7 separate regions of the Homo sapiens genome follow, and all the other regions are linked to region 6. The links are contacts of gene promoters, found by promoter capture Hi-C in blood cells and fetal thymus (Javierre and others, 2016). All regions are on one chromosome and are shown on one strand. The core of a region is centred on a gene start or on the middle of the fragment in contact, and the rest is flanking DNA. Distances in the headings are between cores, read along the strand shown.

Evidence for each region. The method cuts DNA at HindIII sites, captures the fragments that hold promoters and counts their contacts. A CHiCAGO score of 5 or more calls a contact.
Region 1: a fragment that was not itself captured here is called in contact with the fragment with the promoter of ORC4 in region 6 in 8 of 17 cell types (naive CD4 T cells, total CD4 T cells, fetal thymus and 5 more); the score reaches 13.7 in naive CD4 T cells.
Region 2: a fragment that was not itself captured here is called in contact with the fragment with the promoter of ORC4 in region 6 in 1 of 17 cell types (activated CD4 T cells); the score reaches 5.1 in activated CD4 T cells.
Region 3: a fragment that was not itself captured here is called in contact with the fragment with the promoter of ORC4 in region 6 in 1 of 17 cell types (total CD4 T cells); the score reaches 7.5 in total CD4 T cells.
Region 4: a contact is called between the fragment with the promoter of KIF5C here and the fragment with the promoter of ORC4 in region 6, in 9 of 17 cell types (non-activated CD4 T cells, total CD4 T cells, activated CD4 T cells and 6 more). The highest score is 17.9, in non-activated CD4 T cells.
Region 5: a fragment that was not itself captured here is called in contact with the fragment with the promoter of ORC4 in region 6 in 1 of 17 cell types (naive CD8 T cells); the score reaches 6.3 in naive CD8 T cells.
Region 7: a contact is called between a fragment that was not itself captured here and the fragment with the promoter of ORC4 in region 6, in 7 of 17 cell types (total CD4 T cells, non-activated CD4 T cells, naive CD8 T cells and 4 more). The highest score is 7.7, in total CD4 T cells.

Annotation. Positions count from the first base shown.
Region 1 is chr2:148,760,333-148,763,487 of GRCh38, forward strand. It overlaps EPC2 (enhancer of polycomb 2), which reads left to right. Exons shown (of 14, transcript NM_015630.4): 5 at 1,450-1,598; 6 at 2,338-2,470. Among named protein-coding and RNA genes, the nearest start is that of KIF5C, 110 kb to the right of the region's middle. The HindIII fragment of the contact is 734 bases long and covers 955-1,688 here.
Region 2 is chr2:148,814,401-148,817,424 of GRCh38, forward strand. No RefSeq gene overlaps it. Among named protein-coding and RNA genes, the nearest start is that of KIF5C, 59 kb to the right of the region's middle. The HindIII fragment of the contact is 846 bases long and covers 999-1,844 here.
Region 3 is chr2:148,899,107-148,902,176 of GRCh38, forward strand. The region is part of intron 1 of KIF5C (kinesin family member 5C); the gene reads left to right. Among named protein-coding and RNA genes, the nearest start is that of KIF5C-AS1, 5.6 kb to the left of the region's middle. The HindIII fragment of the contact is 635 bases long and covers 1,460-2,094 here.
Region 4 is chr2:148,873,894-148,876,816 of GRCh38, forward strand. It overlaps KIF5C (kinesin family member 5C), which reads left to right and starts at 1,334. Exons shown (of 26, transcript NM_004522.3): 1 at 1,334-1,850. The coding sequence starts at 1,725. KIF5C-AS1 (KIF5C antisense RNA 1) reads right to left here. Exons shown (of 4, transcript XR_001739733.2): 4 at 1-2,302. RefSeq lists a silencer at 1,158-1,627 and enhancers at 2,000-2,578, 2,579-2,923. The HindIII fragment of the contact is 10,493 bases long and covers 1-2,923 here.
Region 5 is chr2:148,856,369-148,859,539 of GRCh38, forward strand. LOC101928526 (a long non-coding RNA gene) reads left to right here. Exons shown (of 2, transcript XR_244868.1): 1 at 1-1,476; 2 at 2,831-3,134. Among named protein-coding and RNA genes, the nearest start is that of KIF5C, 17 kb to the right of the region's middle. The HindIII fragment of the contact is 4,757 bases long and covers 1-3,171 here.
Region 6 is chr2:148,019,145-148,022,483 of GRCh38, forward strand. It overlaps ORC4 (origin recognition complex subunit 4), which reads right to left and starts at 1,593. Exons shown (of 14, transcript NM_181741.4): 1 at 1,489-1,593. It overlaps MBD5 (methyl-CpG binding domain protein 5), which reads left to right and starts at 1,947. Exons shown (of 14, transcript NM_001378120.1): 1 at 1,947-2,540. RefSeq lists enhancers at 1,238-1,835, 2,015-2,114 and a silencer at 1,505-1,664. The HindIII fragment of the contact is 3,631 bases long and covers 651-3,339 here.
Region 7 is chr2:148,783,526-148,786,505 of GRCh38, forward strand. EPC2 (enhancer of polycomb 2) reads left to right here. Exons shown (of 14, transcript NM_015630.4): 12 at 72-231; 13 at 1,143-1,476; 14 at 2,780-2,980. The coding sequence ends at 2,852. Among named protein-coding and RNA genes, the nearest start is that of KIF5C, 90 kb to the right of the region's middle. The HindIII fragment of the contact is 702 bases long and covers 1,079-1,780 here.

The sequences.
Region 1 (3,155 bases), core at 72-2,571, 740 kb after region 6:
TTACTGAACAGGGGAGCCATCTAAAAGGTTCTGGTGCACTTTTGAATATTATTCAGCTGCCAGCTGGCATGTAACCTCATATTATTATCTGCCTTACAATTCTGTATATCTGTTTTCTGTCTGTCATCCTTACTAGATTCTAAGCCTTTTGAGGGTAAGGGACATGTGCAATACCCTGCACAGTGTAGGCACTTTAATAGTTGCTGTCGAAAATATTAATTTTTTTAATTGAAAGGTATTATTGCTGCCTGTTTAAAAAAATGCTTAAACATATGCTTTAGATTTACCTTTTGTCATAGTAATGAAGAAGAAAAAGATGAATTTTTTAAAATTACACAAAAGGATGACTTATTTTTAATATTCGATGTGGAATACCATAATGGGACTTAGTGTAGGTTATTTTTAATATATGACTATTATTTTTCAAATGCAGGAAACTATACACAAAAGAAAAAGAGTATAACTTTGACTTTTTCTCAATTGTTATTTTTCTCTTTTATAATCCTCCAATATGAAACCTTTGGTATTCCTTAGGTTCTTTCTAATGTCATTTCAGATTATTAAATCAAGGCATGAATGATTGCTTAAGTACAGTTCACTCTGGATGCATAGATTGGAGAGGTGGTAGTGGTCTATTTTTAAACAAATAGTTCCATGCCTAATAGTAAAGTGAGGAATCTGTGGATGTTTAACAAAATAGTTTATATTAGTAATAATTTTATATGCAAATAGATGCTACTAATTACAACTGAGCCTTTTCTAGTTATGTAGCAGGGCTTTCACTTTGTATAATAATTAGTTGAAAAGCTAATAAACAGTGTTCTGAAATTCAGTATTTTTGCTAAATCTCTTTTCTACTCAGCAGTGGAGTGTTACATTTACATTGAAAATTGACAGTCCGATTTCTTGAAATGGTTGTTATCCTACTTTCAGTTTTCTGAGTTTCTGAAGTGAAGCTTTACTGGTCATTGTTCATGTTCACATAATAGTACAGTGTATCAAACCATCCAGCCCCCAGTTACAGAGCTGGAGATGGATGGATGAATGGATGAGGGGACTCATTTTGACTGTTACCTTGATCTGGACAGAACTGTTCCTCTCTGTCATTGGAAAATACTTTCCTACACGCTGAATGGACTACATTTTCTGATAACAGATTTTGTTTCAGGTGGACATTTTTTGTTTGTTTACATTGAAATTATCTCTTTATGCCATTCTACCTTTTCAACAGCTGGCAACATTTTTTTTCTGAGTGTCGAGAGATACTTGCTTGTACTTATATTTTCAGAGTTAAATAGTTATAGGTTATCTTACATAGGTTGCTGTTCAGATTTTTTTTAACATTTTACTTTTATAGGATAAATTCAGGTCTGATAAGAGTTTATTGAATAAAGCCGGAAATGTAGATAACTGTGTTGTTTATTCTTCTAAAATTATTATTTTTAATAGAATCGTAAGAATGATGAAGCCTCTTATGAAAAGATGTTGAAACTGAGACGAGAATTTAGTAGAGCCATAACAATTTTGGAAATGATTAAGAGAAGAGAGAAAACAAAACGAGAATTATTGCACTTAACCTTAGAAGTTGTGGAGAAAAGGTAACATTGCTCCTGTTACAACAGTAAAATGACAACTTTACCAAATGATGGGCAAAATGAACCAAAAGATTTTTAGGGGGGAACAGGTTAAGCTTTATGACAGTTGATATTGATTCTGTAAGAATTTATATTTTTTAAAGATTTGTGGTTACTAGTTTTTATAGATTAAGTTATCAATTTGGATTGCAGATTTTGGGAGAGTTTTGTGTATACTGTAGATCCTATACTTAATTTTGTTTTGGCAGAATCATTGAATTTTATTTAGTAAAGAACTCTAGTGATCATATTGTTTACTTCTCTGTATTAAATTTTCTATTAAATCTGAGGGAAATAAGTATTGATTTTATTTTCTGAGTAGGTAGACATTTTTCGTTTCAACTCCTTTTAGAAATGTGTGCTCTAATATAGTATATTTTCCTACAAAATTAAATAGACTAAACAAAAACAGAATTTTGTATGATTCCTGGAGTAAGCATTCTAAACATTTCCTAGTGCTTGATTATATAATATATGTAAGAAATTTGTTTGCTGTGTACCTTAGGCCTTTTTTAGTTTTTTGGTTTGTTTTGTTTTTACCAAATCCCTGTTTCTTTATTCCTGCAAATTTTATCTTTTAAAAGTAATTTGATTGTTAGCCCTTTTTGACTAGGTGACTTCCAATTAATTGAGGTATCACTTATTTTCCTTCTTTATTGTCAAACTATGCAATGTTTTCTTATATTTTTGTTACCTTTTCAAGATACCATTTGGGAGACTATGGTGGTGAAATCCTTAATGAAGTAAAAATCAGTAGATCAGAAAAAGAGTTATATGCCACTCCAGCAACTCTTCATAATGGAAATCATCACAAAGTTCAAGAATGTAAAACTAAGGTGAATATTGTCTGGGAAGAAGCATGTATGGATGGTAATGTTGATCAGAGGAGTTATTGATTTCTGCAGTTGTCTTAATATGGTTTGAGTAAAGAAAAAGTAATTAACGTGACTTTAGTTCTTACCATGAGCCAAGCACTTTGCTAGGAGTATTTATATACATACTGACCAATTAATCCTCATAACAACCCTTAGAGATAGTTGTTGCATCTGTGTGACTTCTATATAATAGCTAGTAAGTGGCAGATTCAAGGTTTCAGTTCAGGTCTAATAGTCCGTCATGTTCAATATGCTATCTGCCTCCCTAGGGAATAAAGGTAATTAAAGTCTAGTTATTATCACTAGCCTTAGCAAACCTTGCATTGTAATGGAAGGAATCAACACCTCAAAGCTTTCTTCATTGAGACTATTGAAAATTATTATTGTCATCATCATTTCCAGAGCCAGCATTTATCAATTGTTATCTACCTTGAGTGACTTTGAGAAAGTCCTGTAATTTCTGGGTCACAGTTTCTTCCTAATGAAAGAGCCAGACTCAGTGGTTATTTTAGTCACTTGGACTAGATAACTATATTTATTTGGTCCTCACTTGGTACATTAATTAAAGTATTTAATTGGGAAATATGAAAACTAATAAAGCCTTTAATTTTAAGGAGCATAGATTTAAATAGGAAACAGATATTGA
Region 2 (3,024 bases), core at 172-2,671, 800 kb after region 6:
CTGGGTGACAAAGTGAGACCCTGTCTCAAAAACAAACAAACAAGCAAACAAAAACAACCAAAAAACCTTTCTTCATAATGAAATCGCCTTTGTAAAATTTGTGACAATGAGAGAAATCTGACAGAAATTATGGCAATGAGAAAAATCTGACCCAAATGACTCCGTCTTGCTTCTAATCTCACAAGCTAACTGCCTTTGCTCCTTCCTGGGTGTAGGCCAAGCTAAACAGGAGAGGAATTTAGTTTATAGTTTCACTTTAAAACAAAGATCATAACTGCCCCTTCCTGAAACTAACCCCCACCTTGCTCAGGGACCAAAATTGCCTTTGTAAAACCAATAAAAAATTAGCAACGAGGATAGAATGGGGTTTAGTAGTTGTGTGGCCAGAGGTCACAAGATTTGTAACCTCCCCCAAACGCTTCTATAGAGAACACCACTTTTGTAAAAACTAAAACTGGCATCTGAGGTACCTTTCAGACCTTGCATTCTGATAGACCAGCTGGCACCACCCGGACCAGTAACCCATACCATGGAACTGGCTCGACTGGTCTTATGACCCCCACCCCGGAATGGACTCAGCACAAGAAGATAGCTTCGACCCCCATGATTTCAGCCTCCAACCTACCAATCAGCACTCCCCATTCCTTGGCTGCCTGCCCACCAAATGATCCCTGAAAAACTCTAGCCTCCAAATTCTTGGGGAGATGGATTTAAGAGCTAACTCTCATTCTTCCACTTGGCTGGCCCTGTGATTATTAAACTGTTTATTTGCTGCAAAAAAACAAAAAAAAAAAAACCAAAAAAAAAAAACCGCTGCTATTCTCAGTGCATTGGCTTTGGCAATTACAATGAGTCATTTCGGTGTCTGTGTGTCTTACCAGACCTGATCAGAACAAATCCCTTAAAACACCTTGTTCTGGAGCTCATCTTCTCTTTCATCTACTGCCCCCCTCAACCCTGGCATTCGCCTTCATATCTCTTCTTTGCTCTGAGGATGAAGCTTCTATTTATTTCAGCTCCTGTTTCCTGAGCAGGGCTACCATGTACTGTTGTGCAGGTTGTACACAGCAGCCAGTTAGGGTTGATCTCCGGACTGATCCTGAGATCCTCCCTGTGGCCATCTCACCTAACTCTATCCCACCATGTAACCCTTCCAGACGCATTTGCAGACCCCATGCCTGTGAAACAGAGGGCAGGATCCTATTCAGGCAGCTGCTTTATCATTGCACTGGGTGGATCCTGCTTCCACAGGGAAGGCAGAAAAGATGTGCTCCTCTACCTCCTCAGCCTCTCTGCCTCCGGTGTTCTCACCTTCACCCCCTCCACCTCCACTCCCATCCCCATTTACACTAGGGAGGAAATGACTGCAATAGCTTAAAGCAGGGTCCTTCCCTGCCGCCCTCCTGCCTGTAATCCAGCAGGGCTCAAAATTTCCAAGATGATTTTCTGGAGTCCAGACTACGTCAATGGTTCTCAAACTTTAAATTGAATTAGAATCACCTGGAGGACTTGTTAAAATGCAGATTACTGCCCCCCCCACCCCCCCCACTGCACCCCACCAAGTTTCTGACTCAGAAAGTCTGAGACAAGCCCTGGGAATCTGCATTTTTACTACATCCCAGGTGATGCTGTTGTCTCAGAGACCATACTTTGAAAACCACTGCTCTAGATGCAGTGCTTCAGGCCTCAGCTGCTACTCGAGGTGCCCCTGAACCCTGTCTTCATTCCGGAAACAAGCCTCTCTGTTCTGCAACGCATGGTGCCTGAGCTTTCTGGGGAGAGATTCTGTTCTGAGGTGGATTATTTTGTTCCCCCTCAGCAGTTCTTACACATTGCTCAATGAAAGCTTGTTGGCCAGGAACAAATATCCAATATTGTTCTATATACGCTGTGGTTTTAAACATTTTTACATTTTTTTTTAGAGACAGGTTCTTGCTTTGTCGCCCACGCTGGAGCAGTGGCACAATCATAGCTCACTGCAGCTTCCACATCCTGGGCTCAAATGATCCTCCCACTTCAGCTTCCAAGTAGCTGAGACTACAGGTGTGCCATCTCACCAGGTTGATTTTTAAAAATTCTTCGTCGAGACAGGATCTTGCTTTGTTGCCCAGGCTGGTCTTGAGCTACTACTGGCTTTGAGCGTCCTCCTGCCTTAGCCTCCCAAAGTGCTGGGATTATAGGTGTGAGCCACCATACCTAGCCGTCTGTGTTGTTTTTCATTTGTTTGTTTTTTGTTTGTTTGTTTTTGAGACAAAGTCTCACTCTTGTCCCCCAGGCTGGAGTGCAATGGCACGATCTCGGCTCACTGCAACCTCCGCCTCCCAGGTTCAAGCGATTCTCCTGCCTCAGTCTCCCGAGTAGCTGGGATTACAGGTGCCTGCCACCACGCCCCGTTAATTTTTGTATTTTTAGTAGAGACAGGGTTTCACCATGTTGGCCAGGCTGGTCTCGAGCTCCTGACCTCAGGTGATCCACCCTCCTTGGTCTCCCAAAGTGCTGGGATTACAGGCATCAGCCACCGTGCCTGGCCGCTGTCTGTGTTTTTGACACTGAAGTGATGGTGGTAATTTTCAAAGCTCTACAGAAATACTCATTAAATTCCCCCTACCCTCAGCTGAGTGAGACTAGGGTTCTGATTCTAGGACAAATAAGGATCTTTGGGGCTCATTGCTATGAGCTATAAATGTCCCAGGGAGAAAAATCAAGTAGGGTCTTATTTTAGAGAAACCTATCTCTGCCTGGCTCTCTCTCCTTTCCCACTTGATAAAGATATTGGCTTTTCAGAACTCCCAGCTCAGCTTCTGAAAGCCACAGTGGTATGAGTGGAGCACTGAAAAGAAAAGCAGGAACCCCTCCCCCACTTGGTGCCAGCTTTCCTTGGAGAGCGGGGAAGCATCATTAAATGACAGCAAGTTGAAAATTGTCAGCGAGATAGGCTATTTGCATGCGACATTGAAACCTCTATGCAATCGTCATTTCCGAGTTGTGACTGCCTGTCTGCAAGGACACATTGGATGGTTCCCA
Region 3 (3,070 bases), core at 527-3,026, 880 kb after region 6:
GAATATTAATTAAATAGTATTTTTTTCAGAATTCAGATTAGCCTATATAGTTCTTTCGTCATCGAACACCTTTTAATCTTATTTTTTTAAGAGTCAGTGACAAAGCATAGAAAGCCATATCTTACTCTTTCCTTTTAATGTTATTTTTGTTTCAAGACTACTTGCTGCTTTATTGTTAAATACCATTGGCAATGTCAGCTTTTGGATTAACGAAAATGGAACAGGTGAAGTAAAGCAAATTAAAGAGATTTATTTTATTCTCTTAAATGAGAACATCTAGATGTGCTTATGCTTGGCATAAGAAAACAGCTGGGTCCAGGCGTGGTGGCTCATGCCTATAATCCCAGCACTTTGGGAGGCTGAGGAGGGTGAATCACCTAAGGTCAGGATTTCGAGACCAGCCTGGCCAACATGGCAAAACCCCATCTCTACTAAAAATACAAAAAATCAGCCGGGCGTGGTGGTGGGCGCCTGTAATCCCAGCCTCTTGGGAGGCTGAGGCAGGAGAATCGCTTGATTCCAGAAGGCAGAGGTTGCGGTGAGCCGAGGTCGCGCCACTGCTCTCCGCCTGGGCAACAAGAGCAGAACTCCATCTCAAAAAAAAAAAAAAAAAAAAAAAGAAAACAATTGGATAATTACTACTCCTCAGTTACCAACAGACTCCTTAAAAATGGTTGCAATAGATTTCCTCAGCCAAGTCATGGGTATTTCTTTCCTGAATTCCATGAGGTTGGGCTTTCCCTTCTCATATTTCTGTGTATGTCTCCTGTGTTCACAGCTGAATGTAGGGTATGCCTGGGCATTAAGGCAACAGAATGATTTCAGATCTCATGGAAAACAAGTGCTTGGCCACTTCATTCTGCCTAACTTTAAGCTCAGCTCAAACCGATGCAGAGACAATTAAGGTTGGTAGCTGCCCCAGAGTCGGGCTGCTTGGTCAGCTTTATTGAACTGTTTTTCTACTCTTCAGGTACCTTGTTTGATTGCTCTTGGAAAGCTATTTTGCTGATTTTGTGATTTTTTTTCCCCATTTGACTTCTATGCAGCTTAGTTTTCAGTATTCCCCAAAGATGTCTCTATTTTGCCAGTGCCTTCTATTTCTCAGACCTTGGAGCAGATGGTTTTCCTGATAATTTATCTCCCCCTTCATCCTTAAACACATATCATTGTGGACACTCTTTTCCAATAACCCACATTGCCTCACCATTTTCTATTTAAAGCTTACAGTCCAGTGATCTAGTCATGTAGGGAATGCCTATCTGTGATGGTTTTATGCTAAGCCCAAGAAAGGCCTCTGATTTGTTTTCAAAATCTTGGAAATCAAGTCTTAAAATGTTCCTCATTTTTTCCTTCCATGAGTGCAGACAGTCAGCTGACATAGGGGCCTCTCCCTCCCTGCCAACAGAACCCTGGGAATGGCTCTTTCTCATCCCACACTACCCTCGTTTGCCTCTTTACAAGCTTCCTGCCTCCTTTCTGACAGTTACTTTAATTGTAAAATGAAGTTTGCATTCAGTCATTCCCATAGCAACACTGGTCAGAGATCGACACCTTTACTCTCTAATTACAAACTGCCTTTGGGAAAGGGTTTGGCAAATATTTAATTGGTGCTTTGTACTGGAGATGCATTGGGGACAAAGAAATGGAGCTTGGGCTTACAGACCAGAGGGAGAAAGAGAAAATTTCAGAAGTGATTATGGTTCAGTGTTGGAAAGCAAGTGTAGGAGTGGGGCCACAAGGAGGGTACCTGGTCTAGAAGGGGGCAGGTAGGGTGGGGCAGGGACTTGTGTTGGAGGATTCTTCATAGAGAATAGCTCATGAACATTCGTTGCTGCTCTCTGACAGGAACAGAAATCTTAATATCATAAAATACAAAAAACCCCAACAAACCCACATTGCATTACAGTTACAGAAATAAAAATGGTGGTTGCTGAGATGCGGTTGACCAGAAAGGGACATGATACAAGTGCCCTGTTTAGTCTTAGGTGGTTGTTGCGAGATGTTGCGAGGATATCTAATTGTCAAAATCATCTAGTGGAATACTTCACATCTATACATCATTGTATGTAAATAAAAAATAAAGCAATATGAGAAAGCTTTCCATGTACTGATATATGGAAAAGTCTTCAAGATATATTAAGTGGAAGAAGCAAGGTGGAGGCAGGTATATATAACCTGCCACCTTTTGTAGCACAAAGAGGAACAATTAGGGATGTATGGTTGACTGCTTCTGTGTGCACAAAGAAAGAACTCTGGAGAGAGTGGTGAGGCACCAGCAGAAGTGTTGGGGCTGGGAGGTGGTGAGCAGCTGGCAGCTGCAGGAATAGAGGGCAGGGATGTGAGGGAGACGTTTCACTTTTATACTTTATACCTTTAAAAAATCCTTTATACTTTTTGGTATTTGAACTATATGAACATATTTCTCATTCAAGGAAAATAAAAAAAGAAAGCAATATGGAAACCGAACTAAGGAGATTTTAAACTGAGATATAAGATGCTTTCAATTATTCCCAATGACAGGCTATTTATCAATTTAATATTTTTAAGCAACTTCCTCCCATCAGTGCTCTGGGAACCAGCTGGGCAGATGTGGTACACCCATGTCAGATACCCCAGTGGCAGGCTCCTGTCACTGTAGCACTTGGTCCCTCCATCCCTCCCAGCCTTCCTAGCTCCTTGCTCCTGGAAACCTCCCCCCATCAATCTCTGACATTTCAGAGGAAATACTGTTTGTCACCTCTTAAGGAATCTGGAGGACGGCCTGTGAGATATGGCGTCAGTTACAGCCTCTTAAAGAGTCAATAGCCCCTGCAGAGGCCAGAACACTGGAACAAATGTAAGGAAGGTATAGTTTTTAAAGATTTTTGACTTGAATTAAATAGGATTGGTTACTTCTTGCCCCTCCCGAGGGTGGACTGTGCACAGAAGAGACCTCTTCACCGGGTTTGCTGCTCTTTTTCGCACTGTGAGTTGGGGTTCTAACAGTCAGCGTTGGTCCATAACAAAATGGAAATCCTTTCTTTCCCCTCCTGTTAATGCCCCCTGTCTGTGCAGTGACTGTGCAACCAGC
Region 4 (2,923 bases), core at 84-2,583, 850 kb after region 6:
AATTGGATTGTCCTCTCTAGTATATTATGAAGTTGATCATTTAAGATGATGGGTCTCTGAGCCAGAGCCTGAGAATTACTTAATTTAAAAACAGATGAGAAGGTGGCACCTGGGTCTTTTTAATCTACTTCCACTGCACATGAGGAGATGAAATAGAACTGGTACTACTTACAAGGGTTTATAAAAGTTGATTTTAGTAGGTCTGTCCTCTCAGCTAGGCAGAGAACACTTGTATTTTCAGGTATTACCCGAATTTAAGCAACAGATGTGTTCCTAAAATTAACTAACTTATTTGTTTTATGATCATTTGTTCAGCACCCAATAACATCTAACTTTCAAGAGCTTATCCTATATACATGTCAGGCACCGTGCTAGGTGCTTTAAAAGCATCTGTCTTTTAATTCCCCCAGAAATCACAAGATGATATTATTCCAATGACAGAGATGAGGAAACTGAGTCTTAAGGAAATTAAGACTTCTTAATTTCCTCCGCTCTTAATTTCCTCCGCCTGTTGGTCATACATCTAATAAGTGGCTGAGGTGGGATTCACACTCATGCATTGCTTCTTCCTAGGGTAGAATCCTTATTCAGTATGCTGCCCACTATGTGCTAGATGCTACAGACACAAAGATATCAAGCAGATATCACCACCCAAGTGCAGTGCTAGAGACAGGCACAGCAGATTAGGGGAACATCAAGGAGGGCCACCAACTCTTTATAGGTGTTTAGTGAGCTGGGAAAGTCTGAGGAAGGAGGGTTGAGCTAGGTCTTAGAGGAAAAGGAAGTTCTGGAAAAATAGAGTGGACACTCAGTTGTTCTGCCAGCCCGGCACCATGTCTGGGAATACCATCCCTCTTCTTTTGGGAACCTTCCCACCAAGGGATTCCTCCATAATCTTACAAAATCCCTGATTCTGGTTGATTGGTTTAGCACTAGATGCCAACCTAAACCAAGGCCAATCAAACCCAAACTCTGAACAGACATCCATCCTTATCTAGTGGTAGAAGTTGAAGGATGAAACCCAGGGGCTATTGGGAGCTGTTTCCCAAGTGATTTTCTTTTGGGATCAGGATGATCCAGACCCAGTTATCTAGAGATTTTAACCGGAAATATTGGATATGACCTCCATCCGGTTCCGGCTTGGGCAGCCAGACCGGACTTGCAGGCTCTTGGAGGTCGCATCCTGTCCTTCCCCCGGCAGGTAGAGTGACTACAAGTCCCGGGATGCGCAGCGCTCGGAGTCGGGCGGGGGCCGGGCGGACCTCTACGGTGACGTCACCGTCCCGGGGCGGGCCAGGGGAGGGCGGGGCGGAGGGGCGGGTCTCAAGGCGGCAGAGCGCGCTGGTGCTGATGCAGGATGGCTGAGCGCGCAGGAGCCCGGGAGGTCTGAGCCGGGCGAGGCTCGCTCCCTGCGCATCGCCTCCTCCGCCCGCCGCGTGGTCGCGGGCAGGTGGGCCGGGGGGCGCTGGGCAGGGGCGGGGCAGGGCCAGGGCAGGCCGGTCTGCAGCCGGAGGGGCCGGAGCGGAGAAGCTGCCCACCTTCCCGGGCTCGGAGCGGCCGGGGCTGCTCAGCCGGCCGGGCTCGCGATGACCTGCTGAGAAGCGTCGTCGGAGGCTGCAGGAGGCGGCCTAGCTGTGGGCGGTGCAGCTCGCGGCCTCCTCCCTCGTCGTTCCCGGCCCCGGCCCCCCACCCATCCCCGTGCCCCCTCCCTACCGCCGGCCGAGATGGCGGATCCAGCCGAATGCAGCATCAAAGTGATGTGCCGGTTCCGGCCCCTCAACGAAGCGGAGATCCTCCGCGGGGACAAATTCATCCCCAAATTTAAAGGCGATGAGACCGTGGTGATCGGGGTAAGTGGCTGGGGCGTCTGCCTTCCCTGCTGCTCCGCGCCGCAGCTGGGCGCCCCGACGCCCCAGACGCAGCGGAGGTGTTTAGGCCGCCCCCTCGGACATTCCCGCGGGGCTGGCCTCTCGGGTGGACCTGACCAGAGACCCCTCGCCCCGCGCACTATGGTTCCCTCCCGGGCGGGTGGAGAGGCGGCCGGGAGCGGCGGGCCGGGCGGGGGTGGCGGGGGTGGGGATGGGGGGCGAAGACGGGCTCGGCGCCGCCATTGTTCGCCGGGTGGGGGCCCGGGTGGGCCCATTGTTCCCCACGCTCGCCTCGCCGCGTGGGTAGTGTGTTCGGGTGACCCTCAAGCCGGGTGCCCAGGCCCCCTTTAAAGTGTGAGCTCTGCAACCCGCAAATGCTTCTGGGCATCAATCAATTCGATTTACCAAACGCCTTGCCTCTTCTTCTCACGACCCTAGCAAAAAAGAAAGAAAAAGGGGTACAGGAAAATTTCTAGTCGCGTCTCGGAGCTCCCGCGGCAGTGTAGACGCGGCTCCCCGCGGTGTTACACCTGGCTCCGCGCGCGGAAGGCGGAGGGTTGGGGGAGTACTGGTGGCCTCGGTGTCCCCTGGAGGCCTGGTGTGTCTCCCGCTTCCTCTCACGCCTGGCTGCCCTGGATGTGGAGTCCCGGCTTGATCCCTCCCCTCTGGGATGACCTCCCTCCCATGTCTGCAGACCCTCTGATGCGCCTCACGCTGGGTGGAGAGGAGGCTGTGTCCACATCTGTGGGGCGAGGGGGCTCAGAGCGCAGTAGCCCCCTGTGCCAAGAGCAGAAGTTACTTCGTGCGGCTCGGACCCCCCTCCCTCTCTATCTCCCTTCCCCACCTTTTCTCCCCCACCCCCTCCCCCTACTTAGCTCCCTCTCTGCAGCTGGGGCTGCTGGTAGGGGGAGGGAACACCAATGGATTGTAGTTCTTAAAGGAATCTGTCAGATGAAACAAACCAGCTCGGTCCCCCGCCCCTTCCCCGCCCGCTGTCCGTAGCGTGTGTGGCTGATGGTGCCCCCTTTGTATGCGAGCCGCGTGGGGAGGGACCG
Region 5 (3,171 bases), core at 296-2,795, 840 kb after region 6:
CAAAGCATATTAAAGTGGCTTTTTAGAGTCAATTTATATTTTTATGTATATTTTAGGGCAGGGAAGCCTATAGGTATCCTCAAACTCTATTAAATGAGAAGACACCTTTTGATGCTCTCTCTTGCCACTCTTACTCAGTATAGTATTGGGACAGGCAACAGAAAGAAATAAAGCACATCCAAATAGGAAGAGAGGAAGGCAAATCATCCCTGTTTGCAGTCGACATGATCCTATATATAGAAAACTCCACAGTCTTGGCCCAAAAGCTCCTTAAGCTGATTAACAACTTCAGCAAAGTCTCAGAATTAAAAAAAAATCAGTGCACAAAAATCACTACCATTCCTATACACCAACAATAGTCAAGCCAAAACAATTCCATTCATAACTGCCACAAAAAGAATAAAATACTAGGAATACAGCTAATCAGGGAGGTGAAAGATTTCTACAATGAGAACTACAAAACACTGCTCAAAGAAATCAGACAGGACACAAACAAAAGGAAAAACATTCCATGTTCAAGGAGAGGAAGAATCAATATTGTTAAAATGCCCATACTCCCCAAAGCAATTTATAGATTTAATGCTATTATTTTAAAAATAACATTGAGATTCCTTATAGTGCTAGAAAAAACTGTTTAAAAAATTCATATGCAACCAAAAAAGAGCTTGAATAGCCAAGGAAGTCCTAAGCAAAAGAGCAAAGCTAAAGACATCAGGTTACCTGACTTCAAACTATGCTACGGGGCTACAGTAACCAAAACAGCAGGGTACTTGTATGAAAACTGACACACAGACTAATAGAACAGAATAAAGAGCCCAGAACTAAAGCCACACACCTACAACTATCTGATATTTGGCAAATCTGACAAAAACAAGCAATGGGGAAAGCACTGTCTATTCAATAACTGGAGCTGGGATAGCTGGCTAGCCATATGTGGAAGATTGAAATTGGACCCCTTCCTTACACCATATACAAAAATTAACTCAAGATGGATTAAAGACTTAAATGTAAAACCCAAACATATAAAAACCCTAGGAGACAACCTAGGCAATACCATTCTGGACACAGGAATAGGCAAAGATTTCATAATGAAGACACCAAAAGCAATTGCAAGAAAAGCAAAAATTGGGATCTAATTTTCTCCAAAATTTTGTCTAAAAATTAGACAAATGGGATTTAATTAAACTAGAGAGCTTCTGCACAGCAAAAGAAACTATCAATAGAGTAGACAGAAAACCTACAGAATGGGAGAAAATTTTTGCAAACTATGCGTCTGATAAAGGTCTAATATCCAGCATCTATAGGGAACTTAAATTTACAAGGAAAAAACAACTCTGTTGAAAAGTGGGCAAAGAACATGAACCAACACTTCTCAAAAGAAGATACATGCAGCCAACAAGCATATGAAAAAGCTGAACATCACCAATCATTAGAGAAATGCAAGTCAAGACCATAATGTGATACCATCTCATGCCAGTAAGAATGGCTATTATTAAACAGTAAAAACAAAAAACAAAAAACAGGTGCTGGCGAGGTTGTGGAGAAAAAAGAAATGCTTATACACTATTGGTGGGAATGTAAATTAGTTCAACCATTGTGGAAAACAGTGTGGTGATTCCTCAAAGACCTAAAAACAGAAACACCATTTGACCCAGCAATCCCATTACTGGGTATATACCCAAAGGAATATCAATCATTCTATCATAAAGACACACCCACACGTATGTTCATCAGAGCACTATTCACAATAGTAAAGACCTAAGTCAACCTAAATGCTCATCAGTGGTAGACTGAATAGAGAGAATGTGGCACATACACACCATAGAATACTATCAGCCATACAGAAGAATGAGATCATGTCCCTTGCAGGAACATGGATGGAGCTAAAGGCCATTATCCTTAGCAAAGTAATGCAGGGAACAGAAAACCAAATACTGCATATTCTCACTTATAAATTGGTAGCTAAATGATGAGAACACATAAACAGATAGAGGGGAAAAATACACATTGGGGAGTTTCAGAGGGTGGAGAATGGGAGGAAGGAGAAGATCGGGAAAATAACTTATGGGTTCTAGGCTTAACACCTGGGCGATGAAATAATCTGTACAACAAACCCCCATGGCACAAGTTTACTTACGTAACCAACCTGCACATGTACCCCTGAACTTAAAAGTTAAATTTTAAAAAAGACATATTTTAAAAAAATCTATTACTAAGGCTTGCATGAAATTTTGAGATAGGAAGAGAATAGGCTACAAAGAGAGTACTGCAGGCAGAACCAGAACCTTTCACACAACCACCTCCCCATTACCCCTTCTGTTTTCCTTCCTTCCTTTTTTGCTCCCTCCCTCCCTCCCTCCCTCCCTCCCTCCCTTCCTTCCTTCCTTCCTTCTGTACATAGTTGCATGGATGTCTCCCATAAATGGTGTCCATGAGTCCACACCTGTTTTAGTCTGCTCAAATTGCCATAACAAAATATCTTCGACTGGGTGGCTTAAACCAAAGGAAGTTATTTTCTTACAGTTTGGGAGGCTGGAAGTCCAAGGTCAAGGTGCCAGCATGGTTAGTTTCTGGGGAGAGCCCTCTTCCTGGCTTGGAGAAGGTACCAGCTCACTGTGTCCTCACATGGCATGGAGAGAGAGAGGGAGCTTTCTCTCTTCTTATAAAGCCACAGCCCTATTAGATTAGGGCCCTTCCCTTAACTCATTGAACCTCAATTACCTCCCGTGGCTTGAAGATTAGGACTTCAACATATTATTTTAGAGGGGGAACATAATTTAGTCCATAACAACATCCTTTGCCCTAAAACTTTGTGGCTTGATTTGGCCAGTGTCAGCAAATGCAAAGCAGAGGTGTAAATGGTACAAGCACATTCCCACTTGACCTCCTGCACACTTGGGCTTGCTCACTCCTGCACCTCTACCTTGCCATGAGAACACATCTCAGCCAGCCTCATTGAGTGATGCGAGAGACATGTGGAGAAGAGCCAAGATCATCTTAGAACAAGCTGACGGGCCAGCTGATCCCCTAAAATGTGAGTGAGCCCAGCCAAGGTCACCTGAGCTGGGGCTTCTTCAGCAGAACTGCCCAGCTGACCCATGGATTGGTGAGAATAAAAAATGGTTGTTTCAGGACACTGAATTTTGGAGTGGTTCGTTACACAGCAATAGC
Region 6 (3,339 bases), core at 343-2,842:
GTCTAGTTTTGATTCCATCGGACATGATTACCGTACACAATACAGAAGATACTAAGGGCTAAGCAATGATGCATAAACGGGGTCCACTGCCCAAACTTACAGAAAGCAAAACGTGGAAAATTAGTAACTTTAACTGATAGTGTACACCTAAAGAACCTACACCGGCCGGGCGCGGTGGCTCACGCCTGTAATCCCAGCACTTTGGGAGGCCGAGGCGGGAGGATCATTTGAGGTCAAGAGATCGAGACCAGCCTGACCAACATGGTGAAACCCCGTCCCTACTGAAAACACAAAAAAATTAGCCAGGCGTGGTGGCACATGCCTGTAGTTTCAGCTACTCGGGAGGGTGAGGCAGGAGAACTGCTTGAACCCAGGAGACAGAGGTTGCAGTGAGCCGAGATCGCGCCACTGCACTCGTCTGGGAGACAGAGCGAGACTCCGTCTCAAAACAAAAAACAAACAAAAAGAACCCACCCAACAGAATTAAGTACCAACATAATAAATACGAAGAATTTTAGATTCTTGGTTTTTAAAAAACATACAAAGATGATATTCCTTCAAAATATCTTTACAAAACATATTGAGACTGTGATGCTTTATATTGATTGTATGAAAACAATGAAAAAGAACCAGCACTGTTTCACTATAAAAGCTTTACTAATGTAAATTTATAAATCCTTTCTTAAATATTTTGAGTTAATTCTAATTTTATGATAGAAATTCATTATTTTCAGCAAAAACAGCTGGCATTTGGGAAACCAAAGGCTCAAAAACTAAGAATAGTAACCAAAGAAACTTGACAAAACAGTCCTTTTAAAACTCTCATCTACACTATAAGGGGAAACTTTGATCACGTCCCTTCTCCTTCATCAATCGTAGAACTCAACATTAAGGACTACACAATCCCACATCCCTCTCCGAGAAAAAGCAAAGGCTTTGTGTTGTAGCAACAACGCAAGACATGGAGGGAAGCTCCACTCAAGACTTCCCTGCCTGCTCCTTCCCCAAAGCCACTCCAGAATACCAGGGAGGGTTGAGAGGTAAGGCATGAAGGGCGCAATATCCAATATGAGCAACGCGTGTGATGCATCTGGTCAAAATGCATACAGAGGACTTGTCTCTGTCCCTAGATAGAAGTCCTCCGTCCTGCAGTCATGAGGGTCAATTGCTGAGGCTTCACAGTTCCCTTCTCTCTTACACTCGGACCGTCACGCTCCTCACCTACTACCCCGATGCAGAGGTAGACTCAGGATCCCTGCACTTGTCAAGGATTCCTCGGCAAGCTCACGGGGCGGGAGTGGCCACAAGACGGAGCTCGCCTGGTCCTGGCCTTCCCGGCCTATACAAGCCTGCCCCCTTCCCAATTCCCAATCTCCACAGCCTTCCATCCTCCCACTTTCGATTCACCTTGCGCCACCGACGCCCCTGGCCTTCGTTTGCAGCAAGTTTACCCCCACCATTACCTCTCGCATAAAAGCCTGCATTTACCAGGTCAAAGAGGGGAACCAACGCCTGCAGGAATCGCTTCACCGAATCGCCTGGCCGCGTCCTCTGCTAGACTTCACCTGCCGCTGCGGACCGTACACAACCACTCCCGGCATGCCCCGCGCACGCACTACCTCTCCCACCCCGCCCCTCTCCCGCCCAAACACGTGACCTCCTTTCGTCTCCGTCCACGCCCACTTCCGTTCCTCCACTTTCCCTTAGGAAGGAGGAGGGAGCTGGGGGTGTTAAAAGCGTAGCGACTTCCTCCTCCTCCCCGCCCCCGCTCCTGTACCTCCCGCTACAATGTCTTCCGGGTCGCTAGCGCCTCGACGCCTTCTGGGAAAATAGCTCATTTCCTCCCCTCCCCCTCCTCCTGCCTTCAACCAACCAGCCACCCGTCAGAGAGGGACATGCGCAGTGAGTGCCTCCCGTCTCTTCTACCCGAACCCCCCCTCCCCCCCAAGCAGAGAGACCCCAGCAGCAGCAGCAGCTGATGATGAAGAGAGAGGCAGTGGCAGAGGGGGGGCACCTTTTATTTCTATTTTTAAAGGGACAGGACACTAATTCTACCCCACTTCAACCTTGAATTCAGGGGGGTGGGGGGAAGGCGGCTGAGTTCCTTCCCCCACCCTCCAGCCCTGAGCCCTGAGAGGGGGATTGAGCCTGAGAGAGGAGAAGGAGTTTCTTCTTCTTCGAAAACCCCCATCCACGACTCCTACCCCCTCACCCCTCCAACTCGCCTCCCTCCCTCCACCCTCCTCCTCTTTGGCCGTGAGAGGAGGAGAGAAAGAAACCAAAAGCCTCTTAGCAACACAGACCCTTTGCTGCTGCTGTTGCTGCTGCTGCTGCTGTTGCTGCTGCTGCTGCTACTGCTGCTGCTGCTACTGCTGCTGCTTGGCCCTGGCTGGAGACATCTCACTACACCCAGGAGCAGCCACTTCCCCAGCTCTCCTCCTCCTCCTTCGCCTCCTCCTCCTCCACTCCCCCCCTTTATTACCCTTTGTGTCATCCTCCACAGCTCCAGGGAAGGCACTCAAAAGTGGGGGGCAGGAAAGGTAAGTGTGTCTGTGGGGGCTTCATTGCCTTCCTCTGGCTCTGACTTTCACTCCGGGGCAACAGTAGCACCAAACCACATACGCAGTGGAGCTCCGGGGTGAGGAGGGGGTGGTGCTGGGGGGGGTGAAGGAGGGGTTGGAGTAGGGAGGGGTGTGTGAGGTGGGGTGCCCATCCTGTCAGGGGAGGAAGGGCACTTTTATTTTTATTTGCTGTTGTCAAAAGTGGTTTCTCTCCTCCATCTAACATCTGATTGTGTCTTGCTCCAGTGGGGGAGAATACAAAAACAACCCCCTCCTTCCTCCAATGAGGCGCCAGGGAAAGAGACAGAAAGAGGCACACTTTCTAGATGTCACTTAAAAAAAATTCATTGGAGAGCTCTTTTTCTCCAGGAAAAGCTCCACTGCATTTGTTTCTGAGTGGGAAAATGTCGGGATCTGGATTGTATTGGAACTGCTTATCCATTTGTAGACCTGAGTGTTTTCCCCTTTTTGGTCCTGTATGAGATTTGGATATTGACTTCAGTGTTGGAAGACTTGATTGGTTTTTGCTTTAAGGGTTTCATTTTCCATTTTTTCGTTTTGTCTGACTTCCATGGAAAATTTCAAATTTTTAGTTGGTAGAGGCCTTTGGTTAGGTTTTGACTTGCATTATTGCTTTTTTTTTGGTTAAATGTCTGTTTCATATATCAGTATATAAAGTCCAAAGCTCTAAAATGCTTAAAGTTTAAATGCCACTGCTATTGTCTGTTCCCACATACGTTCCTGATACTTATTTTCCATATGATGAGAATATTAGCTA
Region 7 (2,980 bases), core at 180-2,679, 760 kb after region 6:
TGCCCCATCCCTTAATATGTTCATAAAATCACATCTAAAAATTAGAGTGTTTAACTTTGTTCATTTTATAGGGCTCAAGCACCTCTGACTGTATGTCTAAAACACTTGACTCAGCCAGCGCCCACTTTGCTGCATCTGCAGTGGTCAGTGCACCTGTTCCAAGTCGCAGTGAGGTAGCCAAGGAACAGAACACTGGCCACAACAACATAAACGGTGTTGTCCAGCCTTCAGGTACAGCTGGGGTTTCACATGGTACCTACTTTCTTGAAGTTGTAACTCAGTGATTGGGAGTTTGTTTTTTGTTTTTTTATCCAAGGGGAAAATGTGTATAAGTCAATCAGGACTCTTTAGGATTTCTTTGGAAAGATAGTGGGAAATAGGTAGATGTTTTCTAGAATTCATGTAGAATCTACTCCTTGTTTTCTCCCTCATCCATTGAATACATACCTGTGTAACATTCTACCCTTCCTGGTTTCATTCACATACTGTCAGTTGCCTCACATCTTAGGAAATCTGTTGAGCTAACCATCCCCATTGAATCATGCATGCATTGATAAAAAAGTGAAAGATAATCCAGGACAGTAATAAATTGGAAATCAGATTTGCCTTCCCACTCTTACATACTGCTCATAGGCATACTAACTCTGGCTCCCGCTCTTTAGATAGAGTATTGCTGTGAAACCCTGTGTGCTTCTTAGTACCCTGAGTCCGCAAAGACTTGTTATTCCTATCATCCTTCAACTACCTCTCAGACCCTAGGATTTTCCAGTTGCTTTTATATATACCCATGAACCTGATTGTCCATTTTTACTAATATTCATGCATGTGTACATACTTAGGGAAACCCAACTGTCATTTCCATCTGTCCTGTTATACTTAACTCCACAGTTGCCAGATACAGGCAGCAGAATACTTTGCAAAGCCGTTTTATGTAGACCAGTAGAAAGAGGGTGTTTTGGGGGTTGTAGCAGATTAGTACATTCTACTTAGTGATCAGAAGCTCCCTTTGGAGAGACCAGTGTGTGAAAAGTTAACTTGGCATTCAATTCAAATACAAATGTTCGTATTTATTTTATTAAGCTTCTAAAAATAGTTGTATTGATGTCTCATGATACTAGTTGAATGACTTCTTTCTTTTTCAGGAACCTCTAAAACATTATACTCCACCAATATGGCTTTATCATCCAGCCCAGGGATTTCAGCTGTACAGCTTGTAAGGACAGTTGGCCACACCACTACAAACCACTTAATCCCAGCATTGTGCACAAGCAGTCCTCAGACACTTCCCATGAACAATTCCTGCCTGACAAATGCAGTGCACCTCAATAATGTCAGTGTTGTTTCTCCAGTCAATGTGCATATCAATACACGGACTTCAGCACCATCGCCAACAGCCTTAAAACTTGCCACAGTTGCTGCCAGTATGGACAGAGTGCCAAAGGTTACTCCCAGCAGTGCCATCAGCAGCATAGCAAGGTGTGTGTGTGTGTTTCAGTGATTTTTCTCCCTTTGTGCTGGCTGTCCTGTGGGAAGAAAAAGACTTTTTTTTACACTGCTCAAGCAATAGGTGTTTATTGACAGACTTGATTTTCAATAGATACTGAAGATCTGTATAAAGCTCTGTGACTTAGGTATTTGTTTAAGGTGCCTAGTAGGATGCTTAAATGCCAACCTAGTAGGATTGTTAGAGAAAGACAGAGTAGTAGTAGAGAGAGAGAGAGAGAAAGGAAAAGAAAGAAAAGGACATCCAACTGTCAAACACATCAGAGTCTATGTTAGAAGCTTCAGTTACTCTTCCCCCCACTGCCCGCCCCACCCCCGAGATGGAGTCTTGCTGTCTTGCCCAGGCTGGAGTGCAATGGCGCAATCTCAGCTCACTGCAGCCTCCGCCTCCCAGGTTCAAGCGATTGTCCTGCCTCAGCCTCCCAAGTAGCTGGGATTATAGGCACATGCCACCATGCCTGGCTAATTTTTGTATTTTTAGTAGAGACGGGGTTTCACCATGTTGGCCGGGATAGTCTCAATCTCCTGACCTGGTGATCCACCCGCCTCAGCCTCCCAAAGTGCTGGGATTACAAGTGTGAAGTTCCTCTTGTATTAATGTTTTATAGTTTAGGCAGTCTGGAAGATGGGAGTTGTTATGATTAACTCCATGCCAGAGTTTAGGTTTCACATCCAAATTTGTGTTTTCTTTAGCGTCATACACAAAGGGAAAGTAAATTACCTTATTTACTTTTATGGATTACTACGGACATCCATAGTATATTTTAGAATGTTTTTATATTTCTTTCTATGACACTAATACAAGGAGAACAATGAATCAGAAAAAAATTGATTTGCATAGGTTAATAAATACATGATCTTAAGCCTATAGAATTAAACTCTAATGGAAAGTAATTTCAGTAATATTGTGCTCCTAATGATTATTCTTTTTGAGTGTCATATGCTTCATCTCTCGAGAAAAAAAAAAGAAAAACTTGGTTTGTCCTGTGATACATATTTCATAAGTAATTTCTCATTGGCTTCTACTGAAATGCCATGTTAAATTATTATCTTTCCTAAGTAAATAGCCATAATAAAAAAATTAGGAATTAATGGAATTTCTGAGCTGAAGAAAAGTTTTTCTCATTCCTATCTAGAAATGGCAAAAATGGGAATTGTTCTTGTGAAGTCATGTTTAGTTGTAATTATGTAACAATGTTTTTGTAAAATACTAAATGGTAACGTCATGTTCTAGAGAGTATTGATATTTATTTTATCCTTTGCCTTATTACCATAGAGAGAACCACGAACCAGAAAGATTGGGCTTAAATGGAATAGCAGAGACAACAGTAGCTATGGAAGTGACATAACCTAAAACACGTGGCTCTGACCTGTGCTGATGGTGTGCAGTCATTCATATTCCAGCTGAATGCAAAAGGCAACACTCTGTGGATCACAGAGTGTAACAATGGACCTAAATGGACTATAGTATATTGGA